Regions from separate parts of the Homo sapiens genome. Here region 1 is linked to region 2. Evidence: promoter capture Hi-C in 16 types of primary human blood cells and fetal thymus (Javierre and others, 2016). All regions are on one chromosome and are shown on one strand. The core of a region is centred on a gene start or on the middle of the fragment in contact, and the rest is flanking DNA. Distances in the headings are between cores, read along the strand shown.

The links. The method cuts DNA at HindIII sites, captures the fragments that hold promoters and counts their contacts. A CHiCAGO score of 5 or more calls a contact.
Region 1: a contact is called between a fragment that was not itself captured here and the fragment with the promoter of FBXO38 in region 2, in 1 of 17 cell types (megakaryocytes). The highest score is 6.5, in megakaryocytes.

What each region holds. Positions count from the first base shown.
Region 1 is chr5:147,855,920-147,862,646 of GRCh38, reverse strand. No RefSeq gene overlaps it. Among named protein-coding and RNA genes, the nearest start is that of SCGB3A2, 19 kb to the left of the region's middle. The HindIII fragment of the contact is 1,278 bases long and covers 4,484-5,761 here.
Region 2 is chr5:148,379,385-148,386,131 of GRCh38, reverse strand. It overlaps FBXO38 (F-box protein 38), which reads right to left and starts at 2,174. Exons shown (of 22, transcript NM_205836.3): 1 at 2,093-2,174. FBXO38-DT (FBXO38 divergent transcript) reads left to right here and starts at 2,282. Exons shown (of 5, transcript NR_105057.1): 1 at 2,282-2,633. RefSeq lists an enhancer at 2,198-2,397. The HindIII fragment of the contact is 17,680 bases long and covers 1-6,747 here.

The DNA.
Region 1 (6,727 bases), core at 3,873-6,372, 530 kb after region 2:
GAGATCCTCTTGTACTTGATTTGAAACCCCCACCACAGGAATGACCTTTTTACTCCAAGGGATTTGTTGGCTTATTGAAGTGGAGTTTACGGTAGATAGGGTAGCTCTGGTATCCACCATGACTGTACATGACTCCCCATTTATTTTAACCTTTGTTTCTCCATGTTTATTTAAAGGTATTATAGGGAGAAATTTACCAGAGAATCCCTTGGAGCCTCATCAATGTTGATTTTTATCAGAAGGGCTGAGGTCTCTTGGGTTCTTTTTAGGGTGGAAACAGTCGGCCTAAAGGGAGGCTTATTGGCATACTGAAATAAAAGCAGACAATCTCTTTTCAAGTGTCTTGATTGTCTGCAATGAAGGCAGACATCTTGCGGTAAAGAACTTCTTGTTCTAGGTCCTTTTGGTTGTGATTTAAAATGAGAATGAGAAGGTCCCTTCCATACTTTTGCTCCCAGCCCCTGTAACTATTGTAGTTGAAGGGTCATAAGTTTGTTAGCCTTTTGAGTTTTTCCTTCCTCTAGAGTCATCTCCAAATGTTCAGTTAAGACCACCAATTCAGTCATTCCTGTAACTTCCTATTCCAGTTTATGTGTTCTAATCAAACTGTTAAGTTCAGGATGGAGTCCATGTATGAACAGAGCAGTTAACGCTGTTTCAGTCCCTGCAGGAAATACTCCTTGCTATACTTTGAGCCCTACATGTTTCACAGTGTTTCTAAGCGAGTTCTGTAATCTGAAACTGGTTCATCCTTTTTCTGTTTACAAGATTGTATGATGGGCCAATCAGTTTTTTGTGGACAAATTTTAGGAATTAAATTTAAAGGGTATTTACCAATTTTTAGAGCTACTTTTTGTCCTTCTCATGAAGAACTTTTGGAGGGGTCTTTAACATCCGCCTCAGGTTTGTCCCAGTCTGCTGCTGCCATCCATTCCCAAGCTTCACCAGGCCCCAACATCATGTGAATAAATTGATAAAGGTCAGGAAGTCCTGGATTGTAAGCTTGTATGAGGATTCTAAATTCCTCAGTAAAGTTTTGAGGATTTTCACTTGGATCAAGAAAGTACTTCACAATGGCTCTAAGCTTAGTTTTGGACCATGGAGTGAAAGTAGTTACAGCAGGCAGGCCCAGCTGGTCAGAAGGTCTCACTTTGTAAGACATCTGTCTGATTTCTTTTTTTTTCATCATCGTCAGGGCGAAAGGGTAATTTACCAAAAAGGTTAGTGGACTCAGACTATGTAGGTAGAGATACATAAAGAGAAGGAATAGTTGAGGTTAGTTCAGTCAGAGTACAGTCCTCTTTTATCACATTCTTGGTCTTTTGCTTAAGCTTTTCATTTGTTTTTTGCAAAGAATCTTTTAAGGAAGCAATGTTTGATTCATGTGGTCTTTTAGAGGCCTCTGCATACCAATGAAAGAATACGTCCCACTGTTTTCATGGGGCTTTTGATCCCCCCTTTTCTAATGTGCCTCACAAATAATTTTATCCAAATTAAAACTTCCCCATTGTGGCCATCTTAATTCTAAGTTTTCTCTAGTGCGGTTAACCCATTTTTCTAAAAATGCACATGTTCTGGGTCCATAATTTTTATACATAAAATTTACATGGAGTCCTGGAAGGTGGAGTCCCAGACTCTTTGGATTCAAAAGATCCCATTTTAAAAATAAAGTACCTTCCTGAGGCCTGAGACCTCTAACTGAATCCAGTTCAGTTAATTATCAAATCCAATTCAATCCTGGACTCAGTCCAGCCTAACTATTGCTCAAATAAACACATAGAGCTCAGAACACAAGTTGGTGGAGCTCGGAATCTGAGAGCAAACTCACCCATGACCTCCAGCTACAATCAAGAGAGCAGTGAGCACAATAGTCTCCTCAGGTACCTCACCTGGTCACCTGGTGTTCCTGGGGGTTGCTGGAGTTTTACTTTTAATCCCACTCTGACACCAGATCTGTTAAAAGAAAACTTTAGACAAATTAAATTTAACAGTTTAATTGAGCAAGGGAAAAAAAAAGAAAAAAATTGGGCAGCCTCCAGAATCACAGCAGATTCAGAGTGACTCCAGGGATGCCTCACGGTCAGAACAATAAAAGGAAAGTGATGTATAAAAAAACAGAGGTGAGGTACAGAAACAGATGGATTGGTTACAGCTTGGTGCATGTCTTATTTGAGCATAGTTTGAACAGTCAGCGGCATATGAGTGGTTAAGTATAGCTTCTGGGATTGGCTGAGACTCACCTATTGTTACAGAAGCATACTTCAGTCTTGTCTACCTACTAAGGTGGTTATAGTTCATCCACAAGGATTCAAATATGGAAGTATGGAGGCTTTCTCAGGCCATATTTAGTTTGATTTAACAACATGCGCTATGATTCTTTTGGTAGTACAGGGTGGAGGAGGCCTTTTTACTGAGGTGTGTGGGCTCCTGACAAGCTTGATGTTTGCTAAACACTGTCTCCAGCTTCTCCACATCTTTCTAGGGTTGAGGCTGCTCTTTTGTGCTTTCAGTGCCCTTGTTCTTTGTTTAGTGACAAAGAGCACAGGTCCTGAAGCCAGCCTGTCTGTATTCATGGCACAGCTTTTCCAATGGGGAAGTTATTTACCTTGCTGGGCCTCAGTTTTACCAACTATTTTATAGTTGGGCTAACAAACTTCCTTCCTTCTAAGGGTGTTATAAGTAATAAGTTAACATATGCAAAATGCTTACAAAAATTAGTACCTGGGAATGAACACTCAAGATACGTTACACTATTATTATTATTATCCCCTCTCTATCTTTACTTTTAGCTATCCAGCTTCATAATTATAACCTCAGTCAGAGCAGCCACAATCACCAAGCTCATGAACTACTTCTCAACACTTTAATTTTGAGTGATGTTTGGGGAGTTTTATTTGTAATTTCTCTTTGAAGAATTTTACCTTTCTTTAGCTTGTACACAGAATAGAAGTAGGAGAATGGATAATCACTGCATCCAGTGAACAAATTATAAGATTTTTTTTGGTATAAGATTTTAAATTTGAGACAATTTCAAACTTACAGAAAAGATTTGAATACAGTACATAGAACTCTTTTTTTCAGAACCATTGGAGAGTAAATTGCTAGCCAATGTCCTATCACTCACAAATACTTCAGTGTGTGTTAAAGGGTTATTAATGCTGCCATATACGTTTGTGTGGATTAAGTGAGATGATGTATGTGCAAACCCTTGGTTTACAGTTAAGTATTGTATTAATGAAATCATGTTTGTCATTCCATCAAGTCTAGAAAAATTCAGGATTTATTTTTTGGCTGTCAGAAAAAACTGAGGAACTGGGGAAAAAGTCACAGGCTCTATTTCAGTGGTCTTTCTTTTTAAGTCAAGATAAGCAACAACAGCTCTGGTCTCAAATCATTTCAAATATCACAGGTTATGAAAATATGGCTGAAAAAATATGTTACTATGAAAATGTGCCATCAAAATCAAATAAGAAAAAAATCTATTTTACAGGTTATTAGTCACAGTCAACACATTCTATTTAGATCTGAACTCAACCCAGTGAGATCATTTGCAACCTGGACCTCTCAGTTGTCTAATGCCATATAACAAAATACTCCAAAATTCAGTGGTTCAAAACAAGCACAGTGTACTTTTTTCATGATTCTTTAAAAATACCATATAGCTGCTTCACCTGTTTCATTGATTGATGTTTACTGGGGCACTGGGATGGCTGGAGAGCCAGAATACTGGCATTTTGTGATTGGCTTTGGCTATGAGCTCAGTGGAGGCAGTTTGCAAAGCATCTGGTAATTCATGAGTTCCAGGAAAATGCATTCCAAGATATGAAAATTAAAACCCTAGATGTCCTAATGTTTAGCCTCAAAAGACACATGGCATCTCTTCAGCCACATTCTATTATTCAAATGAAGCCATAGGACGTGCCCAGTGCCAAGAGGAGAGAAAATAAACTCTACTTCTTGGTAGGAGGAATTGCAAAGAATGTGTGGTCATATTTAATTCACAACAAACCCATAATAAGAAGATTATCCAGGCTTTTGAAGGATCATATGAGAGACAGTTAATAAACTTGGTGACACCAGCCTGGAGAGAAGATAAACCAAGAAACCCTTAAGAGATTGTTCAGATATTTGGAGGGCTATCATCATGAAGCAAAAATAGATATGAATTTAGGATTGAATTTGAGAGGTTTTTGAAATGTGACTACAAATTACAAGAAAATAAAGTTTAATGGCTCCATACTGAATCCTACAAATAAAGGTTAGCTAATACCAAATTTACTGTGGAAAAGGCTCTTGTAATAGATAAGAATAGATGAGATTATCTTCATTACACTTTCCAAGTCTATGAGGTTGGTGCAAAGGTAATTAATTTTGCACCATAATATCATCATATGACTCCAACAGCCTCCTTAACCTAAGATTTAATTCAAGAAGAAGACACTTAAAACTGCAATAAACAAAGCACTTTAAACCTTATTAAGCTTCTCACATATCATTTCTGGGACTCTATCACAAAAAGTATCAAATTCAATAAATGTTGATGCACACATTATTTTCCCCCATGGGTCTCAATATTTTAAGGTTTTGACTGTCAAATCTATAATAATCTAAGTCAAAAGTACAGCTACTTAAGCCTCAACACTAATTAAAATATTTAAAACATTTCTTTTTTTGAAATGTTTAAAATCATTCACAATGCTTCAATATTTTAAAGAGTTACACTATCACAGGTCCTGAGATCTGGAATCTTTGGAATGACAATATGGATTAGATTATGTCTGATATGACTTCAGCTTCATTTTCTTTCTTTCAGGGTGGAATTATTAAAGTTCAAACCATGGGAAACTATGAATGTTTGTGGAATGCGATGTTGAACAAGAGTAACTTTCAAAGTGGTGCACAAATGCCCTCTTGTGGCCATTTCCGGGATTGTGCTACAGTTTACAAAACAAAAGCAACCTAACAGGCAATGTTAGTGATGGCCATCTTTGTGCCACATCCTGTGCTAGAAGAAAATAATGAATTGAAAAAGGAAAAAAAATATATGTTTAAAGAGGAGGAAGAAATATTGTTTTTAGTTTTTGTTTTACTTCTCAGATGATAAGCCAGCTAAAAGAAATACTACCTCAAATGCTGCAGAAGGCTTAGGACCTTTTATATTGAATTTGGGGGTATGGAGAAACTCAGAGGCTTAGAAACTTTTATATTGGATTTGGGAATATGGAGAATTTAAGAGTAAAGACAAAGTACTCAAATTGGCTGATGTACCTTGAAGACCTGGAGGCCTCTAATCTTAGGAGATTTCATAGCATCCCCTAAATATTCAGCAGTATAGGGGGGATCATCAGGATCCTTCTGTCACACTAGGATTTTGATAAATCAACAGACATTTAGGTCGACACAGGCTGCTACTCAGCCCTCCTTGCATTCCTTAGTCCATGAGTGCCAACTCCAGAAATTCCAACATATTGTCATCAAAAATTGTGGAAAGCATTTAGAAAGGACAGAACTAAGTTTATGTCCTGGACAGAAACTTAGAAAGCAGCACTAATAATAAGATGTACAGGTCACATTTGGATGCCTAAGGTCAACCATTGTCACCTCCTCAACACAACCAGAAGTGTTTCCAAGAATCTCCAAAGTGGTGCCATAGCTAAATGTAATACTATTTAGGTCTTGCCTAGCACAGAGCAGAGCAGGTCTATCAGCTTCTTTGAAGAAGACATCAGAGTTTATTAATGGCCCCAGATCACATTAAGCTTTTTTAGTTCAGAGAATGGCTGCCAGAATCAAGTTCTAACACATCATAAACAATATTAAAATATCAGACTAACAAAAAGTAGCTTAAAAGAATAAAATTGTATTGGTGTGTGAATATGCATCAGACAAGCCTAGTACTGGCTTGGCCTAAGAGTATTTATTTGACCCCAAGTTTATTTTCATTTTACCTATTGGAATAATTACAAAACCTGCTACCATCTATTAACACAACTTTCCTATAAGGCTGTGCTTTAAAAGTTTATCTTTCTTCCATGGTCTTCTGCTGGAAGGTAGAAGAGTCAGAAGAGATAAGAGATAATAAATACTTAGGCATCTAAGTATTTACCAACATATTTTGTTTTTTAAGAGTTCTGGATGAAAGTTCAATTCAAAGATATATGACCCCTTGGGTGTGTAATCATGGCCATTATGATGATATAATGGAAGAGGCTTTGTACCAGAGTCCCTGCATATCCAAAAGGGATACATTCCAAGACCCCCAGTGGATGCCTGAAACCTCGAATAGTTCTGAACTTTATATATACTGTTTCTCCTACACATTCTTATCCATGATAATGTTTAATTTATAAATTAGGCACAGTAAAAGATTAACAACAACAGCTAATAATAAAATAGAGCAACTATAACAACGTACTGAAATAAAAGTTATCATGCACTGTGGCTGTAACTTTTGCAGCTTGAAGTGTGACAGAAAAACTAGCACAATTTTTTCTTCTTCATAGTTTCACAGATAAAGTATTTGTTCTTACTATAGATCTTAACCACTTCAGCATATTATTTTTTTCTTTCCTTATTAAGTCAAGAACTTTTATATTTTCACTTAAAGGAAGCACTTCGTGGCTTCTCTTTGGCATTTCCAAATTGCCAGCATCACTGCTCTTGTACTCTGGGGCCATTACAAAATAAAATATGGGTGACTTGAACATAATCACTGTGATACTGAGAC
Region 2 (6,747 bases), core at 925-3,424:
TTTAGGCTCCCATGCAGTGGTCTATGGCCACCTTTGGTATATTACAGTCACTCTGTGGCTGCCTGCTTAGCTGACCTTAGCCACAGGAAGCATTACTTTTGTCTTGGTGTTGCAAGCACATTCTTAAACCAGAGTTGTTTCCAAAAAGTGTTCTCCTATCTCGTCAATTCAAATCTCCTTCCCATCCCAAACTCAAATTACTTTTCTTTACCCTCGTGAAAAATACCCCCTCTCACTTGAAACTTCCCTATATTCTCAATGATCCTATCTGGTCAAGGGCTTCCCTGCCCTTCAAGTTTCTCATGCCTTTCTTTAGTTTCTATTGGTTTCAGCTTGCTCATATCAAAGTAATCTTGCATATCACTTAATTTGACCTCACAGACCTTAATTGACATCATAGACTATCTTGTGTATCTACTGACCAGGACAGCCTCTCTTGTCTAAAGAAATACCACACCACATAAACCAAACTGCTCAGATAAAAACCACACACAAACAAAACAAAACAAAAACCCCCCAACAGGATGATGGTGCTGAAAAAGGCCTAGGAATCATCCAGCTCAACCCTTCGTTTTACAGATAAGGAAAGTGAGGCCTAGAGATGTTAGATGGCTTGTCCAAAGTCACAGAGGCAGGATGTACCAGTGTGAAGCAGGGATACAGGTCTTCAACTCCTTTTTAATTTTATTTCACTATACCACCTTATTTCATTTTAGTATACCACCAATTTTACTTCACTATATCACCCTATCTTACTGGAATCTAGTTGTCCCTTTTTCTCCTCTGCTATGCATTAGTATCTGTTTGACTAAATATAAAGTGTGTACCTCTGGGCACACAGCCATTTAAACAAAGAGGCACACAAAACTCTACATTCTTTACCCAAGGAGGACATCAGAATTACAGCATCACATATTTTAAAGAGGGGAAAGAAGGCTTACAGATAATCTAAAATGTTAATTCTCAAAATGAAAGTTAAAAATTACAAGCGGATTTTTTTCAGTCTATGCCTATGTAATACATACCCTCCAGACTGGACCTCCTCCTTCCCTGGGAAAATCATGGCTTTATAGAACTATTATTTTATCCTTCACTTGTGCTGGGGGAATGGGAAAGGGGATTAAAAACCAGTGACCTAATCCAACGTCTTCCTTTAGCAGATAAAAAAATCTCAAGTTCAGAGAGAGGAAGGGATTTGGCCAAAGTAAACCATCAAGTTAATAGCAACTTTGGAACAAAAATCAAGGTCTCCTGTTTTTCACTTTGTAGTGATTTACACTGCTGGTTTAGGTGTATAAAACAAAGTTTTCTGGACAGAGCTTCTCATTGCACAGGAACCTTCCTAAGTGACCAGTTGCCCTTGGCCAGCTTGGTGTCTGCAAAGAAACACGGTAGACATCTCTTAGTCAAATTCTGGGTGTGCAGAGTGCAGGGAGAATATGCTTTTCAGGTCTGTAAAGACTCCATGAAAAGGGAGTTAAGAATCTGATTTCCACAGCTAGGGCACGGACATCAAAGGCATCCAACACAGATAAGCAAACTGCAGCACAGAAAAGCTAATGGACCTAGACAAGGTCACACGGTGTGTAGGTGGAAGGGGTGAAACTAGAATTCAGGGCTCCTGATACTCAGGCGTGGCAGCCAAAGATGTGTTCACTGCTTCCTGCTCAGGGACATCTCCTCACTACGCTGAACACAGACCTCCTTCACTTTACTGGCCGAAACACCGACTTAACATTAAAATCATGAAATTCGTGACGCCCGGGGTGGGAGACAGTCACAGAAGCTGTCCAGTCCAACACCCTCACCCATTTCATTGAGGAAACTGGGGCCCAGAGAGAGTTCTTTATGCTGGATTTTGGGGCCAGGTTCAGACAAGCAGGCAACCCCCGCAAGCACGGCCTAGAAGGCCAGGAACTACAAATTCAACCCCTGATCTCTCAAGGAGCTCTAGGCCCCAAGGGGGCCAGAGGCCGAGCTTAAGCGGTCGGAAGTTCCAGAATCCCCACCCAGCTACCTCAGCCCTGCCGCACGCACTCCGGGCTTTGCCACCCCGCTCCCGGTCCCCAGGCCCACTCAGCCGCCGCCTCACCTACGCCGACCCTCCGCCTGTTATTGTGGTTGAGAGGGAGGGACGCTACAGACACTTCCCCGGCCCCTACCGCTGAGGCACTTCCGCTTCCGCCGCCGCTCGCATATTTCCGGAGTGTTGTCATCCGGGGCTGGAGCCTCAAACCCGTGTCCATATTGTGTGTGTGAAGAAGCATCGAAGCGCGGCAGCCATGTTCAGCGTGGCATTTCGGAAGGCTTGTCAGGGGTGGAGAAGCGGGGCGGGTTGCTGTTCTTTCACCTGACACTAAAGCGCCATGCCGGAAGCACTGAGTCTGATACGTCGGAACCAGTCTCCACCGTGTGGTTTGGTCTTGATTTCCACTGGTACTCTGGGGTCTTGGATAAGTCTCTGGACCTCGCCTTTGTCATTTGCGAAGTCGATAGGTTCCAATAGAGATTTTCCCAGAATCATTCAACTAAAAATAGAGAACTTTTTTTTTTTGAGAGGAAGGACGGGGGCGCAGTTAAAGATGTTAATGTTAAGTCATCCCTTCTGTGATTTCGGGACATTATCTTTGCACGTAAGTAATAGTATTTTACAGTCCAAAGGAATTTCACATGAGTGTCATTAAAAACTCTACACGACTCTGACATGTAGGCAAGGATCAACTTAATCACCTTTTCTGTTGTTTAATGGATAAGGAATTGTCTTCAGAGAGTGTAATTGATTTTCACAATGTCTCGCAGATGGACTGAAATTCAGATTTTTACCTTTTACATCCTGTGTTCTTGCCCTAATATACATGTAATTAATATGGGCTAAAATCCCTAGATTTAAATAGATACAAATACTTCTTAGGAAAGTTAGTGTGCATTAAAGCCATGTGAGACACAATTTGACAAGACGTAGCATTGACTAGGCTATTCTGCTGGAGAAGAAAAAGCTGAAGAAGGCTTGGGAATCCCATTTCTTCTTATTCTTTTCTTGATTGATAGCAGACCTACTGGTTTTTCCCCTCTTTCCCCAATATGGTTCGGCACCTTAGGTTTCAGCTTGTCTTAGGCAGTCACAGTTTTAGCTATCCCATTCCGTATGTCAAACCATATATCTGTGTTTTTATTTGGAGCTCTGGTAGGACAAACAAAACAAAACCTCATCATATTCATGTACTATTCATTGTAATCTCAGCTTTCATGTTACATTCTTCCTGTAATTGAAGACAAAAATGAATTTTTATGCTATTTGCTTCTGTCGGTTTCTTCATATTCAAACTTTAATAAAGGAAACAGACTTTAGCTTTTTCTGTTTCCCAGGTTATTCTGAAGAATAAATAGGAATTACGAAAGTTTCTAGTGCAGGGCATGGCATATTTAGAAGGCATTCAGTAAGATTTATTTCAGCACAATTGGCCTGAATTTTTAATTCAATGGAATATGATTTTCATTTTATTAGCATTCCTCCTTTTGTAAAAAGCACTGTAGTGGGACCTGAAATGAATACTCATGAGTAAGAAAGGTTTCCTACCTCAAGTTTAGAAAATTTCCTACCACAAATCATTGTAATAAATGTTAAAGATATTTTCTCACTGCTATGAGTGTTATATATAATAAGATATCAAAACTAGTTTTAACATTTTCAGGTAGAGCATGTTATATGTATCCCTTCATCTCTAGGATTTATTTGTACCTTGATGTTACAGGTTTTCATTAAAAAGGTCCTGAGTTAGTATTTCTCCTGTACAGTGGCACCATCATGGGGTCCCTGAGCGCTGCAGGAAAGTTTGCCCTACAGTAAATGACCTTAAACCGCTGTGTTGTTTTAATTTTCAATCCCCACTTTTTAATTAAATTCTAAAGTATCTCTTTTCATTCTTCCATGAGTTCTAGTATCAGCCCGTGTTCTTCCTTGAAATTCCTTAGGTACCTAAACAACAGATAATCCCTTTGTTAAAATGATGACTAATACTCAAGAGAAGTTTTGGTCAGGGATAGTGGTTGGAGTTTGCTCAGGACAGGTTCATATGGCTATGGAGCCTGTTCAGTGCACAACTGCAGAAGGTGCTATGCATATCAAGGCTATTCTTAACTACCCTTAGACTTGGCGTATATGGCAGAACTCCACTATGAATTCAAATACAGGATTTTTTTTGAAGGTAAAAAGGAAAAAAAAAAACTATTGTAGCTGTTTTGACTGAGAAGTTGTGTATTTAGTAGTCAGCAATGCAGGCTTTAGAACCAGAAAGACTTGGTTAACTGTGAGTTCCTCTGCTTACTGGCAGAGAGACAATGGGCAATCACTTCAGCTCTAAGGTTCAGGTTTCTTTAAAATAGACATTATGGTACCTACGTAACAAGTCACTCCAGAATTTAGTGGCTAAAAATTTTATCTGCCCTGATTCTGTAGGGTAACTGGGTTAGGCTGGGCAGTCCTAGCTTGCAGTCTCTGGCATTTACAGTCAGATATCAAACTGGGGCTGTAGTTAATGTCAGCCTCTAATAGATGTTATATTGATGGCAGTTGAGGCTGGCTGATCTCTAGATGCTCAGTTGGAGCTATTTATCAGAGTGCCTACACTTGGGCTTTCCCTCTGATTTGGGTTTCTTATACCGTGGTGTTTGGGTTTTGACAGGGAGCACTTGGAGGTAGAATGGGAAAAAAGGGAGCTGTTCCAAGCAAAACAGGAGGAAGCTACAAAACTTCATATAATGTAGCCTCTGCAGTCCCAGGAGTGACTTCCATCACGTCGTGTTAGGTCAAAAAAGCCACTAAGCCAGCCCAGATTCAAGAGAAGAATAAGAGTCCACCTCTTAATTGAAGATGTAGCAAAGACTTTGTGGCCATCTGTAATTTACCACACTACCTCATTGTTTTTAATTTTTAGATTTTTGGATGTATGAATATTAGCACAAGCATCAAAAAGTAAGGCTTGTAGTCCCTCCAGCCCAGTCTTGCATTTGTGCATGAATAATGTCATACATTATTTTTTAAGAAAAATTGTGGCAAAATATATATATTTGTCATTTTAACCTCTTTAAGTATACAGTTCAGTGGAATTATGCACATTCACATTATTGTGCAAACACCACCGCCGCCAATCATCATAACTTTTCTATCTTCCCAAACTGAAACTCTTTAAACAACAATTCCCTATGCTCTCCTTCCCCCAGTCCCTGGCAGCCACCATTCTACTTTTTGACTCTATGATTTTGACCACTCTAGGTACTCATATAAGTGGAATCATAACAATATTTGTCATTTTATGTCTGAATTTTTTCACTTAGCATAATATCTTCAGGGTTCATCCATGTTGTAGCATGTATTTAGAATTTAATTCCTTTTTAAATCTGAATAATGTTCCACTGCATATATATTTCACATTTTGTTTATCAATTCATTCTTTATGTTATTTATTTGTTGTTTATTTTTCATTGTGATTAAAAACACATAACATAAAATTTACCATTTTAGTTATGTATTTCCATTCATTTTTAGTTTTTAGTTAATGCATAATAATTGTACATATTCATGGGATACAGAGTGATATTTCAATACATGTATACAATCTATAATGATCAAAGCAGGCTAATTAGCATATCCATTCACCGCAAACATTTATCATCTTTGTGTTGCAAACATTCAAAATCCTCTCTTTTAGCTTCTTGAAAATATACAATAAACTATCATTAACTGTATTCACCCTACCATTAACAGATGAATGAATAAAGAAAATGTGGAACATATACACAAAATATGTATACAAAAGGATGAAATCCTGTCATTGGAGGCAATATGGATGAACCTGGAGGACATTATGTTAAGTGAAATAACTCAGGCACAGAAAGATAAACACTGTATGTTTTCACTCATATGTGGGAGCTAAAAAAATTTTTGAGCCCATTTTTAAGTGTACAGTTCAGTAGTATCAACCATATTCACGTTGTTCAGCAGATCTCTAGAACTTTTTCATTGCGAGACTGATACTCTATGTCCATTGAACAAGAGCTCTCCATTTTCTCCTACCCTAGCTCTGGAAACCACAGTTTTACATCCTGTTTCTGAGTTTGACTACATTAAATACCTCATAGAAGTAGCTTCACACACTTTGTCTTTTTGTGACTGACTTATTTCACTTAGTATGAAGTCCTCAAGGTTTTAAGGCTGAATAATATTCCATTGCCTGTATATATCACATTTTCTATTCATCCATCAATGGGCATTTGGGTTACTTCCACATTTTGGTTATTATGAATAATGCTGGAATAAACATGAGAGTGTAAATATCTTATTGAGATCTTGTTTTCATCTTTTGGCATATAGATGCAGAAGTGGGATTGTTGAATCATAGGATAATTCTATTTTTAATTTTTTGAGGAGCCACCATACTCTTCCATAGCAGTTACACTGTTTTACATTCTCATCAACAGTGTACAAAGGTTCCAATTTCTCCACATCCTCACCCTCATTTGTTTCTTGTGAGGTAATGTTTGTAATCCAGATAGAACAGTGCTTGGCAGGCAGCAAACACTCTATAAATGTTAGCTGTTATTATTTGATTGTTCAGAGACCTCTTTTCCTTCCTGCTTCTCAGCTATTTCTAGATAGTTGAAGTGATAAGGGCTGAATTCTTAGCATATGATATTTCTGAAGTTTACTTTCAAAGTGCCCTAATTTTTCCCAAGTTACATAAGAAAATT